Linked DNA regions of Homo sapiens: region 2 is linked to region 1. Evidence: promoter capture Hi-C in human tissues and cell types (Jung and others, 2019). All regions are on one chromosome and are shown on one strand. Each heading gives the region's core, a stretch centred on a gene start or on the middle of the fragment in contact. The rest is flanking DNA. Distances are from core to core; before and after follow the strand shown.

Region 1 (4,894 bases), core at 799-3,298:
ACAGGCACTTTCTACGGTCTTTTCATATGTTTTTATGGAGGTAAAGTTCACATCACATAAAATTAACCATTTTAAAGTAAACAATTCAGCGGCATTTAATACATTCACAGTCTTGTGCAACTGCCACCTCTCTCTTGTTCCAATGTGTTCTCACCACCCCAAAAGGAAACCCCACTCCAGTAAGGAGTCACTCCTCATCTCCTCTCCTCCTAGCCCTCAGCAACCACCAGTCTCCTTTCTGTCTCTATGAATTCGCCTATTTTGGATATTTCATAAAAATGGGCTCATACGATAGATGGGCTTTGTGTCTGGCTTCTTTCCCCAGCATGGTGCTCTCAAGGTCCATCCATGTGGTAGCAGGAATCACATACTCCATTCCTTTTTCCTGGCTGAATAATATTGCATTGTATGGATATGCCACATTTTGTTTCCCCATTCATCCATTGATGGGCACTTGTGTCATTTCTACCCTTTGGCTGTTGAGAGCAGCGCAGCTGTGAACATGTGTGTACGAGTATCTGGTAACCAGTCCCTTCCACGATTTTCTGCAGTCTTGTAGTTTCTGTGACCTGATAACTCTGCTGCAGGGTGAAAAGGAATCATCTGTGGTTTGCCACCTACTCCTGGATACAGCACGTATCTCTTTGTTCCATGCACAGAGGCTGGGGCCACTCTACACGGGGCTTGAAAGAAGCCTCCAGTCTTGCAGCCAAATTCAGAGGCATATAATTCAGAAGCCTATCCGGGAGGCCAAAATGAGTCCTGACTGGGAAAACTCGCTGGACCCGTCTGCCACAGTGTTGAAAAAGTTGTCTTGGGAAGAGGTTTCCTCTGGCTGTCTAGGTTTGAGACCTTTGCGATTCCTTTAAGATCACAAGCAAAACCACGGTGATGGTAGGATGTGTTGGTTTTACTAAGGAGCCCATTTTTTAAAAAACTTGTAAAGTGAGCCTTAATTGGAGAAGCAACAGAAAGCACCTCGGGACAAGTCCTTCCTTTTTGTACAAAGGACCCGTGGTGAGCCCTTCCTTGGAATTCTCGTGTCCTACACTCGAGTCTTGTCCCTGCACAGGGCCATCATTAGTAGGAGCCCTCAGAGCCTCAATTAGGGTATGTGGAGCCCAAAATACCAAAGGGGCTTTCCTCCGCATGAGCTATCTTATTCAGCACCTTTCAGTAACAAGCCATGGGATTTTTACCCCAGGGAAGGAAGCAAGTGTGTGAAGTCCGTGCGTGTTTCCCAGGGTTTTTTCCCTCCTGCACCACCCGGTTGCTAGGTAGCGGGTATATCTGTGCCACCACCTGAAGTTCTGTGGGAAGGGGGAATCTGCGGGGCCACTGGAGGCTTGGGGTGGGGAGGGGAGCCGGACAGGAGAGCAAAGACCCAGGCAGCTTGGGTCGCTCCTCTTCATCACTTAATTCTGAGGGCGCTTGAGTTTCTGAGCTTCCTGGAGTAGAGCCCAGGGCAGCTTTTACTTTGATGTGCTGATCGGTTGCCTGTCGGTTGCAGGAGACCCCCGGCCTCCTGCAGGGAAGATCCTGTGCTGTTTTCCCAGGGATGGAGAGAAAAGCACCAACCCCAAGCCCCGCATGGCTGAGAGCTGTTTGCCTCCATCTCTGTCCGAGCTTTTCACCACAGCTCTGTGAAAGAAACTGGCAGTGAGGGGTATAGCCATCTTGGTGTGTGTATGCGCACGTGTGTGTGCATGTGTATTTGTGTGTGTGTGTGTGTGCGTTCAAACACTGACGTTTCAGAGGCTCTGGTTACTGCTGCATGGCGGATGATCCTCTCTCTCTCCCTCTCTCTCCCTCCCTCTCTCCCTCTCGACCTGCTTGCCTGCCTGCAGAAAACTAATGAATCATGTCTAGCTGAATGCAAGCAGTGCAGACACACCAATGCCCTGCAATGTTGACTGGGCGCCGCCTCTGCCTGCCTCTCGCTCCCTGTCTCTCCCTCTGCTGCTCCCTCCCTCCCTCTCTCCCTCTCCCCCTCCTCCCTCCCTCCTTCTCTCCCTCTCCCCCTCCTCCCTCCCTCCGTCTCGCCCCCAGTTTGTAATCTGACACAGTACACTGCAGTTGTCTCCGAGGTGAACCTCCGGAGCCTTGGCACAGCTCGCTTCTAAAGGTAGGCTGAGATTTATTTTTTTCTCCTAAAAATAGCTTCCCGTCTCCCCTCGCCTTTCTGCACCCGAGCTGCAGCGGCGTTGATCACAGGGGGTTAGCCGGAAACTCTTTGCCCAGACAAAGTTTATCTTGCAGCGGATGGAGAATGCCCTTCAGCGTGGGGTCCGGGGGCGCTGGGTGCGGGGAGCAGCGGCTCGCCCTGCTGGCATGTCGGTGCTGCTTGGAATTCAGGATCGTCTCGGAAGGGAAGGGCTGACGGGCTTCTTCCTGGGTGCCGGGTGTCAGCTGCAGGGGTGCTGTGGCTCTGTCATGGCCCCCACCCCAGGCTTTTAAGAAAGGCCCCTCCAGGCAAAGTTTGGCACCCGATGGACACGGCCCCGCTCGCCTGGGGAGTGCGCCCCAGGCTTCTCAGACAGCAGCGGCTCAGGGCCTGGACTTGTCTTCTTGGGGGCGGGGTGGAGGGGGGGAAGGGGACGTGGGACAAACACATCAGAGTCCCCAGCTCGGCTCAGGTGCAAATGCACAAAGCCCGCAGGCTGCGCCCAGGAATCTGTCAATTCACGTCCCATGGACTGACTTGAATAATGTGTTTGTCAAAACAGATGTTCCCCGGCAGAGTGTGTGCGTGCATGCGTGTGCCTGTGTGAGCAGTGTGCGCGGGCTGCTGGCCGGGGGCAGACTCTCCCAGTGGAAACCGTATTTCACCGGGAAAGGCAGCGCGTACGGGACCACCCGCCCAGGAGCTTAGGTCTGGGTAGGTCCAGGTGGGGGCCCGGACATCTGTCAGCAGAGGCCTCGGTGGAAGCAGCCTCCCTCCTGTCCCCGGGGAGCGCACGCTGGCTGAGGTCGGGGTGGCGGCTGGCCGGAGGGAGGGAGGACTGCTTCACCTCCCGGCCTGGTCACTGGCCCCGGGGGAGGCGGGGGTGCTGGCTCCGTGCCTGCGTGGCCTCTGGGTCCCTGGAGGTTCTTAGGGTGAGTGAGGAGGGAGGGAAGGGGACCCTGTCCAGCCCCATATTTCTCTCACGGAGGAGCCCTGAAGGAGACTCTGCTCACAAGGGTGAAAACCCCACTTCGTCCAGGGAAGGGAAATGTCACAGATGGAGCAGGCCTGAGAGGAGGGAGAGCGGCTCCCTCTGAAAATGGAAGATCGGTGGGAAGAGGAGGTGTCCGGGCTCTGGGCCCTGCGGCAGGCCAGGCTGCTGGGCTCTGAGCAGGAGTGGGCAGGGGAGGGGAGCTGGCGTGCAGGCTCACTCACCCGGTTTCTAAGGGGAACAGTGGGGGAAGGCTCTAAAAAATCACCACCTCCCCCACGCACATGGCCCCTCCCTGGCTCCCTCCCAGCCTTGCTGGGCTGTCCGGGAATCAGCTTCAGACTCATCCCCCGCTGGGCTGTGGGGTCTTGGCTTGTCCTGTGAGACATGATCCCAAGCTCCCAGTGGGATGGGCAGGGTCTGACCGGCTCCGGAGGTTCCCTGGGGGCACGGTGTGAGGGGAAGGCCGGCGGGCACCCCTTCTGCAGTGGGGGGTGGTGGGGCGTGCCTGGGGTCGAGGGCTGTGCCGTGGCCATATGGCAGCCGCCTGGGGCCCAGAGTGGAGCCCTTCCAGGTTATTTCAGGGAAGGCGCTGGCAGCGGCTATTCCCCCGTGCCCCTTCCTAGAGGATGGCAAACTGGGTCAGGGAGAGGGTGGCACTGCCCACGTGCCCGGGAGACAGGAAGATGCTGGCGCTATGGGGGCCGCCCCCCACGCAGGAGGCAGGCGCCACGCAGCCCTCCCCGGGGCATAGCAGCCGGCCTCCCCCATGCTGCAAGCCCGGCAGAGAACCCCAAGCCTGCAGAGTCCGGGGGTGGGCGTGGGTGGTGGAGAAGCCTCCCAGGTGAGGCCAGCGTGCAGCCGGGCTGAGAGCTCCTGGCCATGAAGATGAAAAGACAAGCGGTGGGCCCTACACTGTAGCTTTCAGTTTCATCTCTTTGGCCCCATGCACTGTTGGCGCCTGGAAGAGACCAGCATGTGCTCAGGGGGCGGGAGGAGAGGCAGGAGCTGGCTCTTTCCTGAGCTTGCTTCGCTTTCCATTTCAAATCCACCCCCTGCCACGTTTGTATTTTTGGAGTCTGGTTGAAGTTTTAATTGGAGCAGCGATTCTCACACGTTGGTGAGCGCTGGCATCCTGGCGGGTGGGTTAAGGGGCTACAAATCTCAGAACCTCTGATCCAGCAGGTCTGGGGAGGAGCCGGGAATCCGCATTCCCACGCAGTCCCAGGGGAGGTGGAGGCATCCAGGGACCCCACTTTGAGGATCCTTGAATACAGCGTGACCAGGAGGCGCTTTACGCATCTCTGGGGCATGTTGCCAGCTCTCTGTTGGCCTTTGGCTGAGGTCATACATGAAGCTGAGTGCACGCCTCATAGGTTGGTCTAGACCCGCAAGTGCCAAACCTCAGGGACCAGAGGGCCTGACCCGGGAGCTTCCTTTGTGTCCGGGAGTCTCCCTAGGGCACGGCAATGAGCATCTGTTCCAGGTGGGCGGAGACTTGCCGGCTGAACGTCTCAGTGTTTCCCACTTCTGCCCCAAGGTTTGGAATCCGCGTGGTGCTGGGAACCCGGGGGAGAACCGGATCGGCTGTGCTGGTCTCTTGTTGATCAAGCAGAGCTGCTGATTCCAGAAAACTCTGTTCTCCACTTACCTCATCCCGTGTAGATAGTGGTAGTGCATGGCTTATGTCCTCAGTTTCTCTTTTGACTTTCACCCATTTGAAAAGCTGTCTGATCCCC
Region 2 (4,894 bases), core at 1,530-4,029, 300 kb after region 1:
TCATGCTGACCTTTTCATTGAAAACACAGGTGAGCCATCCACATGGCGCCAGGCCTTGGGTCTGAGGCCGTGTGCTTGCGATGGGCCCACCCAGGAGAGGTGCGAGATCCGTGCCTCAGTGACTCAGCCGCCCACGGCAGCCCGCAGCCTCCCCTGCCCTGCCACAGGTTCTGCAGCAGACACGCCTCATCCCCGGACTCCCTTCCCACCATTCATGCCTGTGTTCCTGAGAACTTCCTCACTCCATTTACTTACTAGCAAGAAGAAGGTTTTGCTGTGATTGTCTTTAGTCAATCCTAACCCTGATCTAAAGGTGAATTTAGAGGTGAACTTAGCCAGAAAGGAGACCCGTCTGAGTCCTAGAATGTTACCAGCATTTTCAGATTAGGAGTAGAATGTTGAGTTTTGAAGCTGATAAAATGTAGAAACTTCCGTCTTTCAGTTTTTTGAAACCTCACATACGACTTTTATCCAAGCAGGACAGGAGGAACTGCAACATCTTCCCCACTTTCGTGACAGCTGGGAGGGGGGCATGTGGAGACTAAGAGGGACTCAGGTGCTCCAAGGAGCCAAGGCGGGGTGGGATGTATTCAAGCCATTGTCTCTTTGGTCCCAAAACATTTGTCTTCAGCACCAGCAGCAGCAACCAAAAGAGACCCCCCCACAAGGAATTATTTTTGCCCTCACCCCACCATGCGCCCAGCAGCGGCTCCGAGTAGACAGTGGGGTGCTGGTGCCCGGCTTTGTTCTCTCCCAGGCCATTCAGCTAACCTTTCAGTTAAAAGCTAAGTTTAGTTGCCTTTACAGATTCTGCTTTTCAACCCGCTTGATTTGGCTAACTGAATTCTTCAGTTCCCAATGCTGGCGAGACTTACGACTTTGTTGTTGTTTTGTCTTTAGATTTTAGGGAACCCAGCCTCTGCAGGACGGGTGGATCACATGGGCCGGAGGTTTCCCCGTGGCAGCGCTGGTCCTCAGAGGTCCCGGCCCGTGACAGTCCCATCCATCGGTTAGTGGCCCCATCATCGCTGTTGTGTCTTTCAGCCGCGGAGCATGTGGCTGCTTACTCCATCTAAGCATGAACAAAACTTTAGGAGTAGCATTTTCCGCTAAGCAAAGAACACTGTTATTCATGGCAAAAAGAAGGCAGGAACAGCACAAGATAAATGAAAGCTATTTGTAAGTATTCTTGAAATATCAAATTGGCCTTCTACATCCATGTTCTCCCAGCTGATTTTTTCCTGGAGAGCTTCACAGGGTAAGCACTGAAGGGGGGACCACTTTGTGTCACCTCCCTCATCCTGGCATGGGCTCCCTGGGACACTCAGGGTCACAGTCCATGGCAGGTGCAGAAGCTGGATGTCAGCGTGCCTCAGGGGTCTGTGAGCCCCACCCGAGGGAATGCTGCCTGTCTGCAGAAGACACGCTGGCAGCAGAGCTAAATCCTGGGGGACACCGTGCAGCTGAGTGTGCCCCTGAAATGTGTGCTCCCCACATCCATCTGGGCACCTCCCTTGCTCATGAGTCGTCATCTGGCATTCCGTTTCCATTCTCTTCCTGACTTTTTGGAATTCAGCCAGCCATGCTGAAAGCTATCGTTTTAGTCATCCTAATCAATCCATGGAGGGGGATACTTCTATTATTGGAATCAATCATGGCAAGGAGAATTCCAAAAAGTATTATGCACAAGATAATGGAAGCTGGTCATCAGCACAGAGGAACCAGGCTTCTATGAAAACACACACACACACACACACACACACACACACATATAAATGCAGGGAGAACTCTTGATACAGCAGAAATAGATGAGGAGAAACCGTCTTGGTTTGGCATGACAGGGCTCAAGGAGGATAACTTCTGGATAGTCTAGGCCACTGAAAAGCCACCTGGAATCTCGTTGAAATAGCTGAAGTTTAAAAGGCCATTGGTCTTTTCCATCAATTCAAAATGAAGAAAGGCTTCATAAAGCAAAACAGATTCTTTGAAATTGTGTCCTGCCAGACTTTTTCTTCCTTGTACAATTCAAACAATAAGAAAAAAATTCCATCTTCACAGCTTTTAGATTGTGTTTATGTTTCTCTGGTAAAAATTTCATGCAATGTTAAAGATCCTTAGGAAACCGTATTTTCAGTTAACTGAGTAATAAAAGATGCAGTCAGGCTCACAGAACATTGATGGCACTTATTACAGATCAGCTAGCAGGGTTAGTGGAGCCCAGATTCCTTTCGGGTATTCTAAACCTAGTGTGTGTCTCTCAAATCTTCATTCAATTCGTGTGTCGTTCCCTCTGGAGGGACTATGGAGCTTAATAAATCGGTTCTCCTGGCTTTCATGTTAAATGACCTGTCCGAGATGTCCTGCCTTGAGAAACGATGTGGGGAAAAGGCCAATCCCCCTGTTCAAGGCTCTCATTCTCTCTCTGTGGTTAGGGTGAGATTTCGAGTCTTCATTTGACTGTAACTTTAATGAGTGAAGACTGCAAGCATGGCTCAGGAAGTGACCTGGGGATGGTGTAGCCGCTGAGAAGTTAATGCTGTAGGCGCTCAGAAAGGACGTCCTTTGGAAGAGGCATGGTAGGTCTTCTACTCCAGTCTCCTAGGACTGAGAACTGAAAATTGTGCTGTGACAAATCAGCACTTGAGCCAGGAAGTCCAAGAAAACCAACCCTGGGCCTGCAGTCTTGCCAGGGTGACCCTCGCTGTCAGAGTCTGGTTTAAATCTACTGTCCTGGGTTGTCTTGTTGCTTGGACTTAGACTCAATATTGGCTTAAATAATTATTTTTTGTCTCCGCTTTGGTTTGCTATTTTCCTAGATCAGTATTGCTTTTCAAATGGCTGTATATTGTTGAGACTTTTTTTTTAAAACTGCATTCATCAGCAGTGAGAAGCTTTAAAGTTTTATTAGTATCATAAAAACCCTTCCCAAATGAAACTACTTTTGATGAATGTGGTTGGATTTTTCTGAAGCCGTAGAATTCCAAAGGCTGCATGCGTGTCTTAATTTCAGTAGCACACTTGTTAAATTGGGTGAAAGAGCAAATCTATGTCAACACCTTAACAAGGAAAAAGCCTCTGAACATAACTCAGAAAAGAGTTAACTGACAAACCTATGATAGGTTTGCTTTAATTGTGCTGACTTCTTATCATGTAGCAAGCCGGGACACCACATAAAATAACTCTAACCAGATACTTTACACACAAATACACATCTCAGCACCTATTATGGTTTCAAAAGGAAACAGAAGCGGAGGGTGCTTATCACCCACCTGAGGAGGAGGAGGACTCGGCAAAGAGCTTTGGGAAATGAACATCAGTGACAGCTGAACAGACAGGATATTCCTCTAGTTGTCATTTACTTCTATTTTTCTTGTGAAAATACTAGAAAACAATATTTTAGAAATCTATATTTCAAAGGATTACTTATCTTTTTCAGAGGAAATTAAGTCTGTAAACCATACACTTCCTATTTTTAATAAGCAGTGGACCTACAATGAAAAATAATATAAATTTTAATATTTTCTGGATTTCCAAAATTTAAAAAATGTCCTTCATGATTAAAAAACAAAATTATGTGGCTTCAAATATATACTTAATTAGGTTTGATTTTTATCCTTTATAACTTTTGGTCTTTGCATTTATCTAGTTGTTGACCTGTCAGACAGAAGGCCTGTAGCTTCACTCTTCTAAAACCGAAGCACCACGTTCAAGAGGATTCTGTTCTTAGGAATCAACTCTGAATATCTCCTCTGTATTCTCCCATTTTTTGTTATTTTGGCTACTGAGCCTACAAAGTGAGGAAAGTCCAGCGTGTTTTCTTTGTGTCCAGGGAGGAAAAATAAAAACATTAGTAACTCTATTGACAAAGCTTTGCCCCTTAAAAAGGGGAGCTCTTTTCTTCAGGTTTCCCTGCAATAAAAAAAATCAAAAGCTGTCAACTCTGTTTAATAGATGATTCCCTTTATCTCCATAGAAATTACAACGGACAGTAGCAGTGAGGGCAGTCGGTCTGGGCCAGGTAGTGAGGGAAACCTCTCTCCTGTAGAAGACGGTGCTTATTCTTATGGCACCAGTGGATTTGGGAGCCCACCCAGGCGTCCAGGCATGAGCCCTGATCTCCCACACGATATGCACACCCTTCCTCCTAACAAAGACCCCTTGGGCCAGCACACTTCCTCAGCAGGATGGGAGGCAGTGCCCACTCCCCCCAGGGTCAGACAGACAGCTGTAGGTAAGTGCTTCTTTCAGTCTCGCCTGCCATCACCAAGGACAAGGGACCCCCAACTGCCCAGTCCAGTCTGCAGTGAAGCCAAGTTTCCATGGACACATTCCAGGGAGGCTGCTACTCTTTCCCTGTCGAGGTTTGGTGCTCATAACACATCCAGTGCATCCTCTCTGGAAGAACATACGGTGGAGTCACCGCATACGCTGATTTTATTCACATACGTTCAACTCCAAGTGCTCCACCCACCTCTACCCCACACCTGTCTTCCCCCCAAAACAACGTGACATTGTGGGCAGTTCTCTGGAAGGAGCCTTCGTTGGGGGACTGGCCTCAGGCAGCTCTGTGTTGGGGTGTCTGCCTAAATGCCTCCCGTGGTGTGGCCAGTTGCATGGTCCATGTGAGTTTGGACTTGAAGACACAAAGATGTTTTCACAGATCATGGTCCTTGAGTATAAGCCACCTACTGAGAAAATGCACTCTTACGTAGGCTATAGGAGGGACCTGAAAGATTTTCAAGGGGTATGTTGACCACACCCAACTCTCTCTAGAATCTGACCTTAGCCCCTGACCCCTCTGCACGTTTTGATGCCACAAACTTGCCACATAAACTCAGCTGGGAAGTGCTGAGAACTTGCTTGGAAAATGGTGTAGCCAGAGGTTCTCCTCCAC

What was found. Contacts are between HindIII fragments. The study calls those that stand out against the background at their distance.
Region 2: a contact is called between a fragment that was not itself captured here and the fragment with the promoter of RIMBP2 in region 1, in 3 of the 25 tissues and cell types used here (H1 embryonic stem cells, dorsolateral prefrontal cortex and heart left ventricle).

What each region holds. Positions count from the first base shown.
Region 1 is chr12:130,713,453-130,718,346 of GRCh38, reverse strand. It overlaps RIMBP2 (RIMS binding protein 2), which reads left to right and starts at 2,048. Exons shown (of 23, transcript NM_001393629.1): 1 at 2,048-2,125. The HindIII fragment of the contact is 10,761 bases long and covers 1-4,894 here.
Region 2 is chr12:130,418,568-130,423,461 of GRCh38, reverse strand. RIMBP2 (RIMS binding protein 2) reads left to right here. Exons shown (of 23, transcript NM_001393629.1): 17 at 901-1,009. It also overlaps a transcript of PIWIL1 not described here. Among named protein-coding and RNA genes, the nearest start is that of PIWIL1, 83 kb to the right of the region's middle. The HindIII fragment of the contact is 6,443 bases long and covers 1-4,894 here.